3 separate regions of the Homo sapiens genome follow, and regions 1 and 2 are each linked to region 3. Evidence: promoter capture Hi-C in 16 types of primary human blood cells and fetal thymus (Javierre and others, 2016). All regions are on one chromosome and are shown on one strand. The core of a region is centred on a gene start or on the middle of the fragment in contact, and the rest is flanking DNA. Distances in the headings are between cores, read along the strand shown. Region 1 overlaps METTL17 (methyltransferase like 17). Region 2 overlaps CHD8 (chromodomain helicase DNA binding protein 8). Region 3 holds the start of OSGEP (O-sialoglycoprotein endopeptidase).

Region 1 (2,813 bases), core at 39-2,538, 540 kb after region 3:
GGTTTCTGCTGGACTGAGGATGGGTTGGGTAAGAATCAAAGGACAGGAGGCCTAATATTCTCCCTGCCCTTTTTTTTTTTTTTTTAATTAGAGGTAGGGTCTCCATATGTTACCCAGGCTGGTCTCAAACTCCTGGCCTCAAGCCATCCTCCCACTTCAGCCTCTAGGGTAGCTGGGATTACAGGCACGCACCGCCATACCTGGCTCATCCCTGCCCTTTTTGATATACACTTTACCTATTCTTGGGGCCATGTTTCTTATCTGGATATCTCTTCAGTTTATACCTAACTTCCTACACACTCACAGTTGCCTCTTCTTTTCTCCACAGGTGGTTCAGAATCTGGGGAGCCTTATATTCCAGGTGTCTTTTTCAGACAGTTTCTACCTGTATCACCCAAGGCAAGTGGCAGTGTTTAGAATATTCTAAATGTGGAATGTGGCAGATGGAAAACTATGGCTTGAGCTTTGCAGCCCAGCACTGAGTGTTAGAAGATAAAAGAAATTTAGCGGCTAGGACTTTGTTGTATTCTTGGGATGTAGAGATGTTGAGTCTGTCATGTTCCTTGTCTTGGTCCTCAGGTGCAGTTTGATGTAGTAGTGTCAGCTTTTTCCTTAAGTGAACTGCCCAGCAAGGCTGACCGCACTGAGGTAGTTCAAACCTTATGGCGTAAGACAGGTCATTTCCTGGTGAGTTAAAATTCCTTGTTCTCCTTAAGTCTTGAAGCAGCTTCATGGATTTCATGCCTTTGCTCCTCTCATTGTCTTTATTCTTCACCATTTTTCTCCTTCATGGGTTTCTTTATCCCTCTTTGAGGGTCTCCATCCTGATTATGTAATGCCTATTTCTTTTTAGGACTCCTTCTCCCTCTATGATTGCTCTTACACAGCTACTGACATTTATACTTTCGTGTAATTCAAGTCTTCTGCATATTTTCCCCTTTTGTGAACAGGTACTGGTGGAGAATGGAACAAAAGCTGGGCACAGCCTTCTCATGGATGCCAGGGATCTGGTCCTTAAGGTAAGGCTTCTTCTTCCCTCACTCCCCCACCCATATGGCACCAATTACTGTTACTCTCTTGAAAACGAAAGAGACTGTCATGTATTGACAAGGGTGGCTCTCAGGAAACTGGGCGTATGAAGTCATTATGATACAGAGCAGTGGTTGGCAAATGAGAGCCTGTGGATCAAATCCGACCTGCCACCTGTTTTTATATAAGCCATGCTTATTTGTGCCTCTGTTGTCTGTGACTGCTTTCACACTACAAACAGCAGAGTTGAGTAGTTGGGACAGAGATAGATTTTGCCTACTCTCTGGCCCTTTAAAAGAAACTTTGCGGACTCCTAATCTAGGGCATTGCTGAGCTAAGAACCTTGTCACTGGGGGAGAGTATGAGCCAGTGTATAATCATAAATTTAATTGTCCTGGAGTGGGATTTTTTTGAGAGTGGAGGTTGCTGACAAGGGAGAGCACCGTACTATGTGCCAAGTTCTTGCCTTTCTCCTGCAGCAAAGAGAAAGTTCTTTGTTTGGAGTATTAAAGATGCAGCCAGCTTAATTCAAAGGACATAGTCAATCGTTATTAGAATTGAGTGTTAAAGGAGTCCTCAGTTTACTGAGTGCAGAGATTGAATTATGAAAATAGACCCTTGGCCCAGCTTTATTTCTTTTATTTCCTTTGATTTCAGGGAAAAGAGAAGTCACCTTTGGACCCTCGACCTGGTTTTGTCTTTGCCCCGGTGAGTATTACTTCTGCCTGTCCCACCACACGGATCTGAACTTAGGCGTGGCCGGGAAATGTAAGATGGTAAAGCTAAGCCACTCTCCACTACTTTGTGTTCCTATCCAGTTCCTACCTAATGATTCCCCTGGCTCTTCCTACCCACTGCTCCTGTCCTCCCTTCTCCCTGGCCCCTTTTGACTCTATTATTCTCAGTTTTTAAGTTTTGTGATTGATGGCTCTTTTGTCTTACCTCATTTTTTTATGTGTTCACAGTGTCCCCATGAACTCCCTTGTCCCCAGTTGACCAACCTGGCCTGTAGCTTCTCACAGGCGTACCATCCCATCCCCTTCAGCTGGGTAGGTACCTGGGGATATTGCAGCAGGAAGCAAACATCCTGGAAAAACAGGAAGAAAAAGAATCAGAGTTAGGAGGAGTTGGATAATTTGTAGAATAGCCTGGAGACTTTAGGGCCTACATGTATATGATTTATACATTGTAAAAAAGGACTGCAGGAATGGGGAAGAAGGGACTGTACAAACTTTTTTCCCATATCTTTTTCTTCTAAACAGTCTCTATGTTCCTTATCTTAGAACAAGAAACCAAAGGAAGAAAAGTTCTCTATGGTGATCCTTGCTCGGGGGTCTCCAGAGGAGGCTCATCGCTGGCCCCGTATCACTCAGCCTGTCCTTAAACGGCCTCGCCATGTGCATTGTCACTTGTGCTGTCCAGATGGGCACATGCAGCATGCTGTGCTCACAGCCCGCCGGCACGGCAGGTATGGGGGGTGTGACCAAAATCAGTGGGATGTGGCAGGAAGCTGCAGCCCACGCCAGCATCTGTTTCCACAGGGATTTGTATCGTTGTGCCCGTGTCAGCTCCTGGGGAGATCTTTTACCTGTGCTTACTCCGTCTGCGTTTCCTCCATCTACGGCTCAGGATCCCTCTGAGAGTTGATGAGGATGTGTAACAAGTATTTTCTTCTATCGTGCCTGCCAGGGCTGAAGCTGCCTGGTATCCAGGAGGGGAATGCTGGTATCCCCATATGTCTGTGTTTGTTTGAGATTTTTAATAATAAATAATAAATTTTTGAA
Region 2 (2,988 bases), core at 5-2,504, 980 kb after region 3:
ATCATATTAAGAATGAAAAGCCAGTGTTGGCCCACCAGTCCCCAAAAGAGAAACACATGTATGTGCTCAAAAGGAAAGACAAAACTTAGTGGTTGTACTTAGTCACTTTCCATAATTACAAACTAATGACCAGAATCATGACAGAAATCTTGGAGGGCATGTAGGGGGTGAGGGATGGCAGTGGAAGGGAAAAGTAACAAACTAGTCAGTTAAGGTTAAAATCCAAGCCCATCTATCTATAATCGCCAAGTAACAATACAGTTACCTGTAGAAAAATACTTTATTATATATGCCAGTATAGCCCTTCACTTCATCTCCTTCTTAAAGGTGAAACTACTGCTTCCCCTTGAGACAAGTACAAACTGATGTTCTTCTGCAGCTTTACCACCTTTAATACAGTTCTTGATTTTTTTGGAAATCTAGAGTCCCAACTCTCTCATTCTTATTTGACATTATTCCTCACCCTTGCCCATTTCTATAATAAACTGTCTGTCCTATGATAAAGTATTTTGTTTTAATTCTACCCTATATTTTTCCATCTCAATCTCTCCATACCTTTCAACAAAGCAGTGATTCTCAACCAGGGGATGGAGACTAAGGCCCTTAAGAAGGGCTTCTGGGAACCGAGGGTGGAGATAAATGTGCAGTTCTTAAAGGTGTATTCAATATTATAATTTTATATTTATCAAGTGAAAAAACTACATCTCATTGTTTAGGCTATTTATATTTATTAACACTGGACAAAGCCTTCTTGGCCAGTGAAGATCTGTAAAAGACACGTGAGGAGTAGAGGGCAGAGAAAGAAACATTCCTGGCTTGGCAGAGTTACCAGTATCTTTGGGATGGGATAAGATTTCCTATAGCCTCTCAAAAGGAGTTTATCATCATTTACTGTTTATGATGGATGAGAAACACTGCAAGAGATTAGTTCTGTCGTCTAATAGATAAAATTATGTAAAATGAGCTACAGATATCTATTGCCCACTTATAGATTTCTCCGTAGTGACAACCTCTTAGAAGACAATGAACGAATGCAGTATTGAGCCATGCTGACCTCTTTCTGTAATGTGCACTTTTAGAAAGTACCACTCATGACCACTTAACCTCTAGCTGCTCAAAGGTTCAGAAAAGAATAAACTATTTTATTTACTTCAAAGAACAAATCTTGTTGTTGGAAACTGTATCCTTTCAAGAAGATCAGTTGCAGATAGACATAAATACATGTTACTGAAACATAAGATGGGTAGAAGCAGCTTAATTTAAATGAGAAATACCTTGAAAATAAAATAATCCAAAGGGCTAAAATGAAAATCACCAACATAATTTTAAAAGAGAAGTATTTTAAAACTGTACCATGAAGACATTCGTGAGACACGAAGGGTCTCAAATCTTATACAGAAATGAAAAATAAACATCCAAAGTGAATGCAATCACAATTTAGGGTCAGCAAAGGATCAGGATGGAAAGACATAGGACCAAATTGGAGCCACTCAGATTTCCTAAGTAGATCAAGATCCTAGGCCATTTTCTCTGTCTTCACCATTCTCACTGCCAAATGTGTGGCTACTCTGTTTCTGTTTTCCAATTACTGAAAGAGAAAGCACTCACACCTCAATCAAGGGTATGGTCATTTGGGGGAATATAAGGCTGGTAAAGTAAGACCTTGTGAATAAATCGGAAAAGCAAAATAGGCAACTACGACAGCTAAAGACATGTATTTTCAGGGGGTAAAGAAGAAACTAGAGAGATTCTGCACTCATGAAAAAAGGGAAAGGGCGAGGTGAGGAAGTGAGGGGTTGATGGAGAGGAAAACGCGACTGGGGTGGGGGTGGGGGGGACCCGGGTACATTACCTGCTCATACTGCCGGGGTTGGTGCCAGTAAGGTCCATACAGCAGAGGCGGAAGATTTCTGGTAACTGGAGACCCCAAAATGGAAATGAGGTACATGCACTTGAGGTAAGGAGCTAGCGGGGGTGCCCTCCAGGGTGGGGATGGCCAAGACGGGAAGATGCGGGGGGTGGGGGGTGTGGATGCCCGGGATAGGAGCAATGTTAGGGCGGAAGCTGCAGGCCGAGAGGCCCGACAAGCCCTGAAGGAGAAAACGAGCTGTGCCTCACCCCAGTGGAGGAGAGAGGTGGCTTTACCTGCAGTGGCTGTGGGGGGCCGGTTCGCCCCTCTCCCTGTCTCTCCAGCACCAGTTCCCCCTCCTCCTGCGCAACCTAACCTGATGCTCCTGCCCGCCCCGCGCCATCATTGGCTGAAGCGCACTGCCACTCACCAAAGGCGAAAAGACGCAAAACAGCGCAAAGGGTGGGACTATAAGGAGCTCCCTTCCCCCTCCCCCGCAGGTTAGGTTGAGAGCGCACGGAGAGGCCTATCCGGTTTCTAGGGCCGAGGCGAAGCCTGCAGCTTGCTTGAAAAAAGGGGGCTGGCCAGAGGAACAGTCTCATAGTACGCGAAACCAGTCCTGGAGATTAAATTCCCTACCATCTACTCTGAATTCTTCACCCTGAAGAGTATAAACTTGGGAGGGAGGGTTCCGCGCTAGGCCAGCTCCGCCTCCCTCTGAATCCCCGGCCTTCTAGCAGCCCTGTCAACCCCTCTCCTGTAGTGACTACACCGTATCCCACTACCTAATAAAAGGGGCCAAATCTTCTTCCCTCCATCGTGGGAGTCAGCCCAGCTGGAATATGGGGCCTTTTAAAGCACTCTTTCTGCCACAACACATAAGGTTGCCGTGCATTTTTGACACTGTGACCCTTCAATACCAATACGGCTTTTTAGACAGTAATTCCTGGGGCCCTCTAACAATTCCCGACCCTTAGCCCGCTCAAAACAAACACTCCTCACCCTCTAAACTCGGTTTCCTGTTCTCCCATCTCTTGAAACTCAGCCCATTTGACCTTTTAATCAGTGTCCACTTTGCGATGTCACTTGAAATCACTCTAATTCCCAGTGAGACTAGACAACCCCAGAATGATGGTGTG
Region 3 (2,739 bases), core at 110-2,609:
GTCTCCCGGGTTCACGCAATTCTCCTGCCTCAGCCTCCCAAGTAGCTGGGTTTACAGGCATGCGCCACCACGCCCAGTTAATTTTTTGTATTTTTTAGTGGAAACATGGTTTCTCCATGTTGGTCAGGCTGGTCTCGAACCCCGACCTCAGGTGATCTGCCTGCCTTGGCCTCCCAAAGTGCTGGGATTACAGGCGTGAGCCACCACGCCCAGCCGTGTTTGGTACTTTCATCTAATCTTCAAGACCTAATGATACAGGTATTATTCCCATTTTAAAAACAAAGACCAGGCCCGAGCGGTGGCTCATGCCTGTAATTTCCACACTTTGGGAGGCTGGGGTGGGCGGATCATCTGAGGTCAGGAGTTCGAGACCAGCTTGGCCTGGTGGAAACCCCGACTCTACTAAAAATACAAAATTTAGCTGGATGTGGTGGCGCACACCTATAGTCCTAGCTACTTGGGAGGCTGGGGTAGAAGAATCGCTTGAACCTGGAAGGCAGAGATTGCAGTGAGCCGAGATCGTGCCACTGCATTCCAGCCTGGGCGACAGAGCAAGACTCTGTCTCAAAAAAATAAAATAAAATAAAAAATAAAGACCAAATGTCCAAAACAAAAATATTTAATATGAATATAGCAAAGCCAGCCAGTTCTGTCTGACATGTAAGCCGGGAGTCTTTCCACTCTCATCTCTCTACTCATCCTAGAATATTTCAAAAAATAATTTTTTTTTAAAAAGGGAGTGTATATTCAGGGCAACTGGAATCTATACTCCTGCTAAGCGTTTTTTAAACAGAATATTTCGAGTCCATCTCTATTATACTGTTTATCATGCTGTAGTATAAACATCTATTTATATGTCTGACTCCACAGCAGTATAACATCTATTTCTGAATACTTAGCACATAAAATGCGCTCAGTAAAAGGTAAATGAACTCATCAGATCCACGTCCAAGTGCCTGTAACTCTTCTAGTCATCAGCCTTGTGACGTTAATAATGTCACATAATTTCAATGAGACTCGGATCGAAAGCTGCACCTCACTAGTATTTAGGAAGATGGAAGGCTGATTCTGTGCGGGGAAGTGCGCGGAAAACTCTTAAGTCCCCTACTCACCAACCTGTGCCAGGAGGCGTGACGTAAGTCCGCCGCGGGTTCGCCAGCACCTTGCCATCCCGCACCACGCCCACGCCAATCTTATTGGCGCTGCCTTCAAAACCCAGCACCGCCGGCATGGCGGAGGCTGGGAGAAAACGCCGACAGGACTCCTGGCAATGTCAGGAGCTGTGGAGGTCCTCACTAGTCCGCGCTGGGCCGCAGCTTTCCGGAGCGCAGAGGAAGCTGGCCAGCCTGCAGATAGCACTGGGAAAGACACCGCGGAACTCCCGCGAGCGGAGACCCGCCAAGGCCCCTCCAGGGACCTGTCTTCCTAACTGCCAGGGACGCCGAGCCAACTCTGTGCCTTACATTCGTATCCGTTTTCCTATCTCTTTCCCGTGGTCCAGCCCAGCCTTCTCCACTGTTTTTTTCCCTCTTGCACATAGTTAGAATCTTAAGTCAGTGTCACACAATGTGCTGTGCATCTGGCACAACGATAAACAGCCCGAGGGAGGGTTGGGGACCTAAGTGTCCTAGAGAATTAGAGGAGGGAGGCGAGGCTAAGCGTCTCCGTCACGTGGTGTCAGACAGACCAATCACGCGCATTCTTCGGCCACGACAAGCGCGCCTCTGATCACGTGACCAGGTCCGCTACCCACGTGGGGGCTCAGCGTGCACCCTTCTTTGTGCTCGGGTTAGGAGGAGCTAGGCTGCCATCGGGCCGGTGCAGATACGGGGTTGCTCTTTTGCTCATAAGAGGGGCTTCGCTGGCAGTCTGAACGGCAAGCTTGAGTCAGGACCCTTAATTAAGATCCTCAATTGGCTGGAGGGCAGATCTCGCGAGTAGGGTACAAGGCACTATGAAATGATCTAGTTTCGTGGGTGAGGGGCTGAAGGGCCTATGATGCACGGAGGCGGGGAAAGGATTTAGAGATAACGTGGTTTGAAAGGCGGGACCTGGTGCGGGGACGCTCTTGGGAGGAGTCTTCTCCCCAGCCTTAGCTGGTTTCATGATTTCTTTGCGTCTGTAGGCAACGCGGTAAAAATATTGCTTCGGTGGGTGACGCGGTACAGCTGCCCAAGGGCGTTCGTAACGGGAATGCCGAAGCGTGGGAAAAAGGGAGCGGTGGCGGAAGACGGGGATGAGCTCAGGACAGGTAAGGGAATGAAATCAGCCCTTCTTCCTAGAAGCTGCGGCGGGGGTGTTTGTCATTCCCTTGATGTACGGTAAGTACGGGCCGACTCATTTTTGCAGGGGTTTGTGAAGAAGTCGCAGGAACCGTAGGCTTTCGTTGGGTCTATAGTTAACGCCGGATCGCAGTTGGAAACCACCAGCTTTTTGTCAGTATATATTACTCATTTTATAGAGCCAGAGGCCAAGAAGAGTAAGACGGCCGCAAAGAAAAATGACAAAGAGGCAGCAGGAGAGGGCCCAGCCCTGTATGAGGACCCCCCAGATCAGAAAACCTCACCCAGTGGCAAACCTGCCACACTCAAGATCTGCTCTTGGAATGTGGATGGGCTTCGAGCCTGGATTAAGAAGAAAGGATTAGATGTGAGTGGAATTTGAGGGAAAGAGACATTTTTTAGTATTGAATGGTCTTAGGGTTTAGTCACCCCTTTTCTCCGTTTAGCCTTCAGGCTG

Evidence for each region. Contacts are between HindIII fragments. The CHiCAGO score rates a contact against its expected background, and 5 or more counts as called.
Region 1: a contact is called between a fragment that was not itself captured here and the fragment with the promoter of OSGEP in region 3, in 1 of 17 cell types (naive CD4 T cells). The highest score is 5.1, in naive CD4 T cells.
Region 2: a fragment that was not itself captured here is called in contact with the fragment with the promoter of OSGEP in region 3 in 1 of 17 cell types (erythroblasts); the score reaches 5.3 in erythroblasts.

The regions. Positions count from the first base shown.
Region 1 is chr14:20,994,215-20,997,027 of GRCh38, forward strand. It overlaps METTL17 (methyltransferase like 17), which reads left to right. Exons shown (of 14, transcript NM_022734.3): 8 at 329-399; 9 at 580-687; 10 at 951-1,019; 11 at 1,687-1,737; 12 at 1,995-2,078; 13 at 2,313-2,497; 14 at 2,571-2,813. The coding sequence ends at 2,676. It overlaps LOC101929718 (a long non-coding RNA gene), which reads right to left. Exons shown (of 4, transcript NR_110139.1): 3 at 2,618-2,813; 4 at 1,623-2,116. Among named protein-coding and RNA genes, the nearest start is that of SLC39A2, 3.7 kb to the right of the region's middle. RefSeq lists an enhancer at 1,915-2,813. The HindIII fragment of the contact is 5,148 bases long and covers 1-2,813 here.
Region 2 is chr14:21,435,049-21,438,036 of GRCh38, forward strand. All of the region lies in intron 1 of CHD8 (chromodomain helicase DNA binding protein 8), which reads right to left. Among named protein-coding and RNA genes, the nearest start is that of CHD8, 20 kb to the right of the region's middle. RefSeq lists enhancers at 2,114-2,657, 2,445-2,604, 2,635-2,814. The HindIII fragment of the contact is 3,471 bases long and covers 1-2,988 here.
Region 3 is chr14:20,453,453-20,456,191 of GRCh38, forward strand. OSGEP (O-sialoglycoprotein endopeptidase) reads right to left here and starts at 1,360. Exons shown (of 11, transcript NM_017807.4): 1 at 1,117-1,360. The coding sequence starts at 1,231. It overlaps APEX1 (apurinic/apyrimidinic endodeoxyribonuclease 1), which reads left to right and starts at 1,774. Exons shown (of 5, transcript NM_001641.4): 1 at 1,774-1,942; 2 at 2,126-2,251; 3 at 2,462-2,649. The coding sequence starts at 2,194. RefSeq lists a silencer at 1-10, promoters at 1,273-1,717, 1,347-1,884, 1,549-1,883, enhancers at 1,308-1,397, 1,818-2,037 and cis regulatory regions at 1,344-1,674, 1,605-1,760, 1,631-1,672, 1,669-1,674, 1,685-1,717 and 2 more. The HindIII fragment of the contact is 3,687 bases long and covers 1-1,879 here.